Regions from separate parts of the Homo sapiens genome. Here region 2 is linked to region 1. Evidence: promoter capture Hi-C in 16 types of primary human blood cells and fetal thymus (Javierre and others, 2016). All regions are on one chromosome and are shown on one strand. The core of a region is centred on a gene start or on the middle of the fragment in contact, and the rest is flanking DNA. Distances in the headings are between cores, read along the strand shown. Region 1 holds the start of CSNK2A1 (casein kinase 2 alpha 1). Region 2 has its middle 41 kb from the start of SCRT2.

Region 1 (6,400 bases), core at 1,239-3,738:
AACACAGGATAGCTACAGATTCTGGGGATCAAGGTATGGCACCTTGGGAAGAGGGAGATGTAATTCTGCCTACTACAAATCCAAGTCCTATGGAAGGGTTTAAACTCACTTCCTAAAGAAAATCATCCCTTTCTTTAACAGAGTGTGAAGTAAAGATGTATATATTTTACTTATGTGAAGTAAAGTATATATACATACATACATATGTCTTTACTTATGTGACACAAAGATGTATGTTCAGAGATAGAGACAATAGTAAAAACAAGGACTCACTCTGGATGAGTGAGTAGGAAAAGGACGCGCAGTATGGAAAAGGAGTTGCCACCTGTTTCATCCTCAAATTGCAAGGCACTTCACCCATAACTACTTAGAAACTAACCCATGCTCCTCCTTAAATGTGTATTTCTCTTCTCTGTATTCCACAAAGGAGTACATAACTAGGCTTTTTTTTATTTTTAAAGAAAAGTCACCTCACGGGGACCTAACTGTATAATCAGTTGATTAATCAATCTAAGCAAATTTCCAATCTTGCATTCTTTCTTCAAGTCATACACCCTCCCGCAATAGCAAACCAAAGCCAAGTATTTCAAAGTCACAGAAGGACAAAAACATGCCCTGCTAAGACTGCAGGTGAACTTTTGAGAATACCACGGAGGAGAACTAGTATTGGTACTGGACTTTCAGCCCCAGGTCCACCAAGCCAGTAAAGCCAAATGACTTACAACAAAACCCTACAACAACTACAAAGATACTACTCTAAAGCCCTGTCTACAGTCAAATTCTTGACTATAAATTTTACTTAGAACAGAAGAGCCCCAAATATACCAGCTAGTCCCTTTACAGTGACAGGTAAAAGCTACTTACTACACTTACTACCTGCCAGACACTGTAGTAAGCACTTGACACAAATTGTCTTATTTACTCTTCTCCGTAAACTCACAAGCTAGAAAATACCATCATCCCCCTTTTACAGACGGGAAAACTGAGGCTTAGAGAGTTTAGGTCACACAGCTAAGTAGCAATGGCCCTGATATTTGAGAACCTAGGCAGTCTGGTTTTTAACCACTGGGCCTACACTGCACTCCTCAGATGGAATGAAGTCTCCAATTCTTGGAAAAATCTTCCCTTCTTAGTTTTCTTTTTTCTTTTTGAGGCGGAGTCTCGCTCTGTCGCCCAGGCTGGAGTGCAGTGGCGGATCTCAGCTCACTGCCACCTCCGCCTCCCAGGTTCAAGCGATTCTCCTGCCTTAGCCTCCCGAGTAGCTGGGATTACAGGCGCGCGCCACCAAGCCCGGCTGATATTTGCATTTTTAGTACAGACGGGGTTTCACCGTGTTGGTCAGGCTGGTCTCGAACTCCTGACCTCGTGATCCACCCGCCTCGGCCTCCCAGAGTGCTGGGATTACAGGCGTGAGCCACACGCCCGGCCTCTCTTCTTAGTTTTCATTTCCTCTCCCCATGTCCCATTCTCGTAGAATTAAACAGCTGAAAAGTAATCAAGTCTTCCCAAATAATTTGCCACCTTCTTTTCAAAACTCTTTCCTCCACACAAAGCAATAGCCAAGATGCAACTTCTCCTGACCCTGACTCTGCTTCCCCAAAACAAACTACAGAAGCTCCACCCATCACCTGCTTAATCTAGCAATGTTCCAACACTGCAAAAAACACACAACGAAAAACAAAATTGAAAAGTCCTACTCTTTCAAAAGGTCACCAACATATGTATACCCTTAGCCAAGCTTTCTCTCCATACCTCTTTTTCTATCCAGGCTCCTAACTAGTCCTTAACTCCAACTCCAGACGTTCTGCCCCACGTCTTGGTCCCTTCCCCCTTTCGCCCCAGCAACCCCGCCTGGGGTTCTCTCCACCTCGCACCCACTCTGCAGGTGGGAAGCTCAGCCCCGCCCAGAGGGACCCTAAGAAGGCCCCTACTCCAGCTGCCCAGTTTCGCGGGAGGGTTCACTGCACACTACCCAGCAGGCACCACTCCCTCCGCACCCTCCCCCAGCACCCCCCTGCGGCCCCACCCCTCAAGTTCCCTTCCCCCTCTGACGACCCCCTCCTCCAAGTTGTCCCCTAGTCCCCACCCAGTTCAGTCCTCTCCTCTGCAATAAGCTGGACTCCGGCAGCCGGTTCCCACCCTCACATCGGCCTCTGCCCCCAAACCTCGCCCTCCGCCCTGAGGGGTGGCCCCTGGGCCTCCCCGATGGGCTGCAGGGGCCTCGCTTGGTTTATGTGTGAAGGTGGGGGCAGGGGAAGGCGACGGGCCGCTCAGGAGTCTGCTGGAAGCGTGAGGGTCGGCCGCGCTCCGCTGCCCTATCCTGGGCCCACCCCACCCGCCAACGACCTCGCCTGGCTGCTCCCTAGGTACCTGTGGTGGAAGCGGCAGCGGCGGCGGCCGCTCTCCCCTCTGCTCACACAGACAATATGGCGGCGATGGAGGAGGAGACACACGGCTCGGCCGCCAGCCGCAGGGACCAGAGCGAGGCTGCAGCCGCTGCTGCCGGAAGCGGAAACCCCCTCCTACCAGGAGGCGGGGCGAGACAGCTTCCGACTCCGCCCCCAGAGGAATCTCTCTGAATGCGGCCATGCTGGGATGTCCTATTGTAACCTTAGGGATTCAGTTCTGGCCTAGGGTGCAAAATGGAAGGAATCCCCAACGCAAAGCAGAATAAGGAGACTTGCAATAGTTAAGCGCATTTTATTTCAATAGTGTTAACAAGTGACAACAGAGAGAACACGAACCTCCCATTAGGTGAACAGTTGGTTTGACCCAAGTTAAGATGGCGGTACCCAGGTTTCCCACACTTCACCCAGCTGGCCCCCCTTTCTTGAAAAGAACCATGCGCGACCTGCAGAGCTGTAGAGCCAAGCATTCTGGGAGCTGAAGTCTCTTTTGCTCTGACCCCTCGTTTTAAATTAGGGTTTCAGCAACACTTTCTATTCAAACTTGGAGTTCGGAAGAAGTGAATGAAAGTTGGACCCTAGGAAGGGCATGGCGCAGGAGTCTGAGAAGTGAGGATACTAGCTCTCAAGAGACCAAGGCCCAATTCCTTCCTCCTACAGGAGTCCTGCCAAGAGCTGTGCGTCCAAAATACAGTGTTTTTTTTTCCTTCTATCTGCCTCCCACCCCTGCTCTCCTTGCCCGAGCTACCTCCCCAAAACAGCCACAAAGCACTTTCTACCATGCAGAGCTCATCATGGTCTCCCTATGGTCAAAAATCTCCCATGGACCTCTTTATGCACCAAAGATAGCCCAAACTCTTCACTTGACATTCAGAGTCCTCCATAATTTGGCCAAACCCTCCTTTCCAGCCTCCTATTCTGCCACTCTCTTCTCAAATTCCGGAAGATTCCACCCACAAGACTGCAAACAATTCCTGGAACTTAGCTGTGTTGCCTCCCTCCCTTTACACTGGCAGTTACTTCTCTTACTGTCACCTCATGGACTGGATAATTTCTGTATGCCGATTGAACTAATTCAGGGATCCTTTCCTCTAGGGGTCTCCTCTCTGTTTAACTCCCTCCAACCCAGACACTATCAGTCAGTAACCTGAGGACCTCAGTCTGTCTCCTCCATCAGACTGGGAGCCCCCAGTGGACAGGGCTCCATCTGATGATCAACCTCTCCTTTGCAGGCCCTGATAAAAGCTGAAGCGTCTAAGAGTTGCTGAAAGGAGTTCAAGTATTAGTCTCACCTCTGGTGGGACAGAGGTGTGAGCACTGGAACGAGGGTGAGGAGGCCAGGTTCTTTCAGTACCAACCATTATCCCTAACTGTCTCAGAATAGCTGGTTGTCTCAGGAATGGGCCTCTCCACCCTCCACAGCCCTGCCTTCACAGTTTGTCAGCTGACTAGCACCTCTGCTCCCAAAGAGGCACCTCTTCCCCATGTGGGGTTAGGGCTGGTGGTGGCTGCAGACTTATAGTGATGGCCTCAGGGAGGTGGCTGTGGCCTTCTCTGGACCTCATCTGCTAGACAGCTTGTGACATCTGATCCCAATTGCCTGGGAACCCACAACAGTTTTTCTCTCAGTGTCCTGTAACTGGGCCTCAATTTCCCCACTTGTGGACTGAGGAGGTTATACAAGATAATCCCAAAGTTTCTGGGAAGCCATCTTCCAGGAAATGATACCCTTCTACCTACCTCTCGAACGTATCTTTTTGGCTCTTGTGGCTTTGTTTTTCCCAACTGTATTCACATTTGTTTAACTCACAACAATTCATCATTTGCTATGAGCCAGACACTGTGCTAGGTACTGGGGATGTGTTATGAGGAAGACATACACCAGTTGCTCACTGGTGGAGCTTACCTTCTAAAGTGAGAAGCAAGTAATGCACAGGTAAACAAATGCATAAACAAAGTAATTTCAGGTAGCAATAAGTGCTACGAAAGGAAAAGATAAGTAGCTGTGAAGTATAGAGCTTTAGCTTGAGTGGTTCAGAAGGTCCCTTTGAGAAGGAAACAGTAAGTGCAAACGTCCCAAGGCAGGAAAGAGCATCACAAGTTTGAAGAAGGAGGCCATGGTGGCTGAAGCACTGCAAATAAAGGGAAGAAGAGGAAGAAATATGGTGGGAGAGGTGGGCAGGGCATTCAGGTCATGATAAGGAAGCTGGGTTTTCATCTGAGTGTAGTGAGGATATTTCCCATTGCTTAGCCTTCATGCCTTTCCAATCTCAGCCTCTCTCACAGCATTAGTTCTTCATTCTTCTTCCTAGTTCTGGCCTCTATCCATGACTTCATTCAGAGGGCTCACCTGGGCACACATATACAACCCTCATACTCATGCAGGACATAATTGAAACCCAACTCCTGCCGTCTACTACGCCAGCCTCATGTAGGTCTCCGGTCTCAAGAGGCTTCCCATCCCAAGTGTTCACCTAGTTGTAGACTTAACATTTATCCTTAACTCTTACTGTCTCTGATCCCCCACATCACACCTCTCAGGCTAGTCTTTCTGCAAACAACAGCAGCAGAAGCAAGAGTTAAGATGTTGAGAGTACTTGCACTGTGCCACACACTGAATGTTCATCATCTCACTTAATCCTCATGTCAACCTGATGAGGTAGAAACCAAAAGTATCTCACCGTACAGATGAGGAGACTCAGGTTCACAGAGATCACAGGCCATGCCCAAGGTCACATGCCGGAGATGGAGCTTGCATTTCAACCTGGGCCATTAGAGTGACTCTCTCTCTCTCTCTCTCTTTTGAGACAGGATCTTGCTCTGTTGTCCAGGCTGGAGTGCAGTGGCATGATCACAGCTCATTATAACCTTGAACTCCTGTGCTTAAGCGATCCTCCCACCTTAGCCTCCTGAGTAGCTAGGACTACAGACATGCACCACCATGCCTGGCTCATTTTTAATTTAGTAGTATTATTATTACTATTATTATTATTGTACAGATGGGGTCTTGCTATGTTGCCAGGGCTGGTCTTGAACTCCTAGGCTCAAGCAGTTCCCCTGCCTTGGCCTCCCAAAGTGCTAGAATTACAGGCAAAAGTTTTAATCATGCACTAAGAACCTAAGTGTATTTGCTTTCTATTGCTGCTTAACAAAATCACCCCACAATATAGTGGCTTAAAACAACAATATTTTATGTTTGTGTGGATTGGCAGTTTGGACATGTCTCAGCCAGGACAGCTCTTTTCTGCTCCAAGTGGTCTTTCCTGGCTTACTCTTACGTTTGCTGTCAGTGAACAGGCCAGCAAACTGGTTAGAACTCCATGGCCTCATTCACATGTCTGGCAGTTGGTTGGGGTTGTTGGCTTGAGTGCCTTGGTTCTCCTCCATGTTGCTTCTTCAGTAAGCTAACTCAGGCTTACTTACATGACGGCCCCCAGAAGAAAGAAAACAAAAGCAGCAAGATCTCTTCAGATCTAGGCTTAGAAATGATATAGCATCATTTTCACTGTATTATATCGATCAAAGGCAGTCATATGGCCAGCTCAGATTCAAGGAGAGTAGAAATAGATTCCATCTCTTCATGAGAAAAACATCAAATCATACTGCAAGGAGTCATGTGTATAAGGAGGGTGGAATTGTTGTGGCCACCTTTGCAAACATTATATCACATAAGTAATCGTAGGCATGGAACTGGTTAAAGAAATTATGGTACAGCCAGACATGGGGCTATTCACAGCAATGAGAACTAACATTTTTGAGCACTTAATATGTGTCAGACACTGTACAAGATGCTTTACATCTATTAACTCATTTAATCCTCACAACAGCTCTCTGTGGCCAGTACATTTTTAATCCCCATTTTAGAGATTAAGAACACCAAGTCTCAGAGAGGTTAAACAACTAGTCCAATGTCACACAGCAAGTGACAAAGCCATTGAAAAGAATGAAGACAGTATTATGTCCTGACATAGAAATCTGGCCCTGACATTCTGTTA
Region 2 (6,400 bases), core at 1,454-3,953, 170 kb after region 1:
AAATACAAAAATTAGCCAGGCATGGTGGTGCATGCTTACAGTCCCAGCTACTCGGGAGGCTGAGGCAGGAGAATTGCTTGAACCTGGGAGGCAGAGGTTGCAGTGAGCTGAGATAGCACTACTACACTCCAGCCTGGGTGACAGAGCAAGACTCAAAAAGAAAATCATGTAATAGTATACTTTCATTTCCTTCCTGGCCTTCTTGCTGTTGTTGTCATACATACATATGTGTGACAGACTCCACAAAATGTTATTATTTTTGTTTAAATGCTAAGTTATCTTTTTTTAAATTAAATAATCAGAAAAGATTTTATATATTTAACTCATGTAGTTAACACTTCTGGTGACCTCCATTCCCTTATGTAGATCCAGATTTCCATCTGGTATCATTTTCCTTCTGCCTGAAGGATTTCCTTTATCACTTCTTGCAGTGCAGATCTGTTGGTGACAAATGCATTCAGCTTTTGTATGTCTGAAATCATCTTTATTTCATCTTCATTTTTAAAAGATATTTTAACTGGGTATAGAATTCTAGATCGGCAGGTTTTTTCTTTCATTAGCTTAAAAGATGTTGTTGCTTCACTATTTTCTTCCTTAAATTGTGTCCAACAAGAAATCTGCCATTATCCTTATCTTTGTTTCTCTATACTTTACAAGGCTTTTCTTTCTCTGACTGTTTTTAATATTTATCTGTTTGTCACTGGTTTTGAGCAATTCGTTCATGGTGGGTAATTTCCTTCCTGTTTCTTGTGCTTGAGGTTCGTTAAGCTTCTTGGATCTGTGAGTTTATAGTTTATATCAGATATGAAATATTCTCAGCCATTAATTTTCTATTTCCTCTCCTTTGGGGACTTCAAAGACACATATATTAGGCTTCTTGAAGTTGTTCCATAGCTCCTAATACTCTTGGTTTTTTGGATTCTTTCTTTTTCTCTGAGTCGTCGATTTTGGGTAGTTTCTATTGCTACATCTTAAAATTCTCTAATCTTTTCTTCTGTCACATCAGCATATTTTTCATTTCAGACATGTAGTTATCATTTCTAGAAGTTCAGTTTGGGTCATTTTATATCTTCCAAGTCTCTCCTTAACCTTTGAACATGCAGACCATGAAATACAATTTGAATACTTATTTTAATGCTCTTATCTCCTACTTCTGTATCAGTTCTGGGTCAGTTTCAATTGATTGATTATTATTCTTGTATGGGCCATGTTTTCTTGCTTATTTACGTGCATGGTAAACTTTGGATGCCAGGCATTGTGAACATTACCCTTGTTGGGTGCTGTACACTTTTATATTTCTATAAATCTCCTTCAGTTTTGCTCTAAGATGCAATTAAGTTACTTGGAAACAGTTTTATCCTTCCTAGTCTTGCTTTTATAATTTGTTGAGTGGGTCCAGAGCAGTGCTATCTGTTGAGGGCTAATTATATACCACTGTTGAGAAAAGACCTTCCTGAGCACTCTACCCAGTACCCCAGAAATTATGAGGGTTTTTTCTGTTTATTAATATTTCTGGTTTTGTGTGAGTGCTGAGCACTGTTCTCTAATCTTATCAGATGATTTTCACCCCTACTTCAGTGTAGTTTTATCATACAAAAGCACCAACCAGTACTCAGTCTAATACTCAAGGGGGACTTTCTTCATATCTCTGGAATAGTCTCTCTGTGCAACTCTTTCCTCCCAATACTGTGTCCTGCAAACTCTGCCCTCTTTGTCCTTCCTGGACTCTCAACTCTATTTCCTTAACTCAGGAAGCCTCCTGGGTGCTGCCTGGGTTCCTCCTCCCTGCACTAGGTTCTGAAAACTCTCTCCAAGCGGCAAACTGAGGCCATGATAGGGTTCATCTTATTTCCCACTTCTCAGGGATCATGATCCTTTATTGCCTGTTGCCTAGAGTCTTAAAAATTACAGTTTCATGTATTTTGCCTGGTTTGGTTTGTTTGTTTGATTGTTTCAAGCAGGAGAGTAAATTCAGTTTCTGATACTCCATCTTGGGTGGAAGCAGATATGAGAAGGTGACATTTGAACACAAACTTGAAGGAGTTGATGGAGTGAACCAAGAGGATATGGGAGTGGGGAGAGGAAGGAGATTCTAGGCAGTGTGAACAGCAAGTACAATGGTCTCCTGCGTGTATAGCTGAGAGTGCGGGTAGTGTGTTTGAGGAAGGAAGGGAGCACGTATGGCTGGAGCAGAGAGTTATGTGGGGAAAGTGGGGAGAGGGAGGGATGAGGTGTCAGCTTGTGTAGGACCTTGCAGGCCATGGAGAGGATTTTGGCTTTTACACCAAATGAAATGGGAGCCATGGGAGGATTTTGAGCAGAGGGAGGACATCTTTTACAGGATCTCTGAATCGATTGGATTAACTGAAAGGGATAAGAGGGCAAGAGAGAAAGCCAGAGACTTGCTGGGAACCAGTGCACTAAGCCAGGTGAATGCTAGTGACTCAGACACATGAAAGGACACACTACCAAGGGGGTGAATAACTAGGAGCGGGGATGAAGGAGGCTTCTGGGGTGCTGTCGGTGTCTTGTATCTTGATCTGAGGGAGGTTACATCATCTGCTCACTGTGTGAAGATTCATTGAGCTGGATGTACACGTCTAAATTGTGTTCACAATTGAATTGAATACATGAATATATTACTATATAAATATACTATATACATATAAAACTTAGAAAACAAAGTAGGGAGATGAAGGTGGCTTGGACTAGACTGTTATCAGTGGAGGTGGGAAGAACTGTATGCATTCTAGATCTCTTTTATATGTAGATCCAATAAGATTTGCAAACAGATCTAATGTTAGATGTGAAGACAGAGAATAGTCCAGGATAATGTCAAGTTCTCTGGCTGAGCTACAGCAAAGACTGAGGACCTGCTGTGTACCAGAGCTTGGGCTAAGCTCTATTAACTTCTTTAATCTTCATGACAATTCTAGGAAGTAAGTCTGGCAAGAGCTGCTTCTGAGGTTTTTGTGGGGCTACTGGGAGCCTTTCCACCAGAAGTGTAGTTTGTGTGATGGATTCCAGAGGTAGTGGTGGCCACCTTTGCCTCCATGAGGTTACAGGCTGCCTGAGAGTGAGGCCTACAAGAAAGAAATCAAAGCCATGATAGAGAGAGAGACAGGATCCTCACAGTAACATGTCAGCACCTGGATTCAGCCATAACAGAAGCCAGTGCCCTGGGCTTCTCAGTTATATAAATTAATAATTACTTTTTTTTTTATTTCTTTCACTTCTAACTGAAGAGTCCAGACTGATACAACTTCTTCATATGTGTCCCCTGTCTGCACCATCCAATGGACCATCAACAGCAGCTACATCCTCTCCTTACCGTTGCTTGCTTGCTTTTTTTGAGACAAGGTCTCTTTCTGTTGATCAGACTGGAGTGCAGTGGCATAATCACAGCTCACTGCAGCCTTGACCTCTTGGGCTCAAGCAGTCCTTCTGCCTCAGCCTCCTAAGTAGCTGGGTCTATAGGTGCTTGCCATCATGCCCAGCTATTTTTTTTTTTTTCATAGAGACAGGGTCTCACTATGCTGTCTAGGCTGGTCTTGAACTCCTGGACTCAAGAAATCTTCCTGCCTTGGCCTCCCAAAGTAGTGGGATTACAGGCGTGAGCCACCGTGTTTGGCCGTCCTTACCATTTCTAATGCCTGCTCTGCACTTTCTCTCTCTGGACCTTTGCTCCTACAGGTCCTCCTTTCCAGAATGCCTTTCCTCCCTTACCTTCTGCCCTCACATCAAAACCAGCCCCCTACTCAAAGCCATCCTAACTCCACCAGCTGAAGGATGGAGCTGGCAGAGTGCTTAGATATCAATCCATTTTACAGATGGGAATACCAAGGTCACTGTGAGACAGGGCAGATTTGTGGTCAGGACTCCCGCGTTCTGACTCTCTGAGACTCTTTCCATGATCCTCCAGGACAGCCTTTTCTGTGCCCTCCCTTGCGTGGGGTTGAACAGTACTTTTCACAACAATTTACACTCTCCCATACCCCAACCCTTGCACGTGCTGTTTCCTCAGTCTGGGATGCCCTATTCCATTCTGTCCTTCCGGAAAGGGTGCCACTTGAACTTGGAGATTCAACTCAAGGATCAGACTTCCAGAAGCCTTCTCTTTTTCCCAGGGTGGCTCTGTGTCCTGCCTGGTACTCCCACAGCTGCCTCTGGTACCTCCATGAACCCATTTATCCATTTGTTTTTTAGGTGTCTGTTTCTTGTTTGCCTCACCTGTTAGGTAGGGGAACTGAGGCAGACCTCCTGGCCAAAGAAGGCTCCCAACTGATGTTTGTGAATCAACATAGAGTGAGAAAGAGCCCCGTGGAGTGGGGCGGGGGGTGGAGAGCCAGCGCTGGGCGTGGAGGCAGGACGCCTGGGCTCCAGTCCAGCCACCACCACTCTAGTGTGTGGCCTCATGCAAGTCATGTCCTCTCCTTGAGCCTCAGGCTTTTTTGGCAGTAAAAAGGGCAGAACATCATAGTAGTTAATACCTCAGGCAGCCTGGATTTGAATCTTGGCTGTGTGACTTTAGGCAGTTTACTCCAGCTCTCTGTGCCTGTTTCCTCATTTGCAAAATGGGGGCAATAAACATATCTGCATCATAGGGTATTTGTGAGCATTAAATGAGTTAATGTTTACAAAGCTTTCAAACCATGCTTGCTTGGCACATCATATAAGCATCCCAGAGTGAGAACCATTAAACAAAAGAAACCCTTCCCTTCCTGAGAGGAGAGGAGAGCTTGACAAACTCTAAAGTGGCGTGTGAGTGAACTATGGTCACTCTCAGGGGGTAAGCTGCCTGGAAAAGGCTGACTCTGACACTGACTAGTGTGTGTCTTTGGAGAAATCATGTCACCTCTCTGGGACTCAGCTTCCCCATCTATCAAATGGAGGAGTTGGTCTAGCGCAGTTGGAGTTAAAGTGCTTTGTCTCTTTGAGTTTTATGTCCATGTCAGTAGAGTGGGCTGAGAGCTGCATGTCTGTCATGCGCTCCTGGTGAGAATGAAATACGATGATGGGCCGGACGCGGTGGCTCATGCCTGTAATCCCAGCACTTTGGGAGGCTGAGGCGGGTGGATCACTTGAGGTCAGGAGTTCGTGACCAGCCTGGCCAACATGGTGAAACCCTGTCTCTACTAAAAATACAAAAATTAGCCGGGTGTGGTGGCGGGCGCCTGTAATCCCAGCTACTTGGGAGGCTGAGGCAGGAGAATCGCTTGAACCCGGGAGGTGGAGGTTGCAGTGGAACCAGGATTGAGCCACTGCACTCCAGCCTGGGCAAAAAAGTGAGACTCTGTCTCAAAACAAATAAATAAAATAAAAAATATAATAATAAATAAATAAATACAATGATGTCTGGAGCACTTGCCAGTCATGCCTGCCACATAGCAAGTAATCTGTCATAACTGTCACTGTTATTCTGGCCCTGACATTCCAGGGTTCCTTGAGGTGGGGCAGGATGAGGGATGGGCTGGGCATCATGAAGGAAGGTGCTGATGTATCACCTACTGACAGTTTAGAAAAGGGAAGGCAGCCATGTGACCCACAGGCAGTGTCCCCCTGCCTGAGCCTTATTTGCAGGGCTGTGGCATCGGTGAGCAGGACAGGGACCACCACGCCCACTAGAGAAAGAAGCACGTGCTGCTTTTGTGAGTTCACAAAGGTCTTGGTTTTCCAGGGCCAACAGTGTCCCCGCCACACGTGACCACCTCAGAACCATCACCTGCCACCTGCCAGGGCCTGGGAGTTGGAATCTGAGGTGGAAGGAGAGAGCAGGGGCCAACTCCTGGCTGCTCCCCTCTCTTGGTATGTGACCCTGGGCAAGCCTCTGCACCTCTGTCCCCTTTGTCCTCTCTTGTCACATAATGAGGTTTTGAGTGTCTTAGATAGGGAGGATGTCTCCCTATCTAAGGATAGGATAGGATAGAAATGGCCAGGCCCTGGTGCCTCTGCTAGCTCAGTCTGGCTGGGACGACCTGGGAAGAACATGGCCTCAGTTCCAAAGCCAAGGCGGCTCCTGGGGGAGCTGCAGCTGGAGGCTGTCAGCTTGCTGCCCTCCTTGCTGCTGAAGGACAAGCTTTTTCTTGAAGATAGGATGGATAGGATGTCTCCTATCCATCAGGAGATGCGATTATTGGCCTAGACTGGGCAGGGTCTCCACCTGGGCGACGGGTTGGGAGGCGGAAGTGAAGCTGGTGGCATGAACCATTCTCAGTGACCTTTCACCAGGGTGAGTGGGAAGTAGTTGGGAGCATCGAGGCCTCACTCTCCATCCTGAAGATGGAGCACAGACTGGCTGGCTGAGGCCGGGAGCTCATCACGGGATGGAGACAGATTGGCAGACAAAGAGGAGGCGGGCGGTTGGGGCTGGGTGCCCCTGGGGAGGAAGGCGGGGAGAGAG

The links. Contacts are between HindIII fragments. The CHiCAGO score rates a contact against its expected background, and 5 or more counts as called.
Region 2: a contact is called between a fragment that was not itself captured here and the fragment with the promoter of CSNK2A1 in region 1, in 2 of 17 cell types (megakaryocytes and M2 macrophages). The highest score is 6.2, in megakaryocytes.

What each region holds. Positions count from the first base shown.
Region 1 is chr20:541,302-547,701 of GRCh38, forward strand. It overlaps CSNK2A1 (casein kinase 2 alpha 1), which reads right to left and starts at 2,489. Exons shown (of 14, transcript NM_177559.3): 1 at 2,371-2,489. RefSeq lists enhancers at 809-1,502, 2,196-2,889, 2,375-2,524, 2,545-2,624, 2,735-2,784 and 1 more and a silencer at 1,995-2,054. The HindIII fragment of the contact is 12,556 bases long and covers 1,737-6,400 here.
Region 2 is chr20:713,659-720,058 of GRCh38, forward strand. No RefSeq gene overlaps it. Among named protein-coding and RNA genes, the nearest start is that of SCRT2, 41 kb to the left of the region's middle. RefSeq lists an enhancer at 6,237-6,400. The HindIII fragment of the contact is 3,874 bases long and covers 767-4,640 here.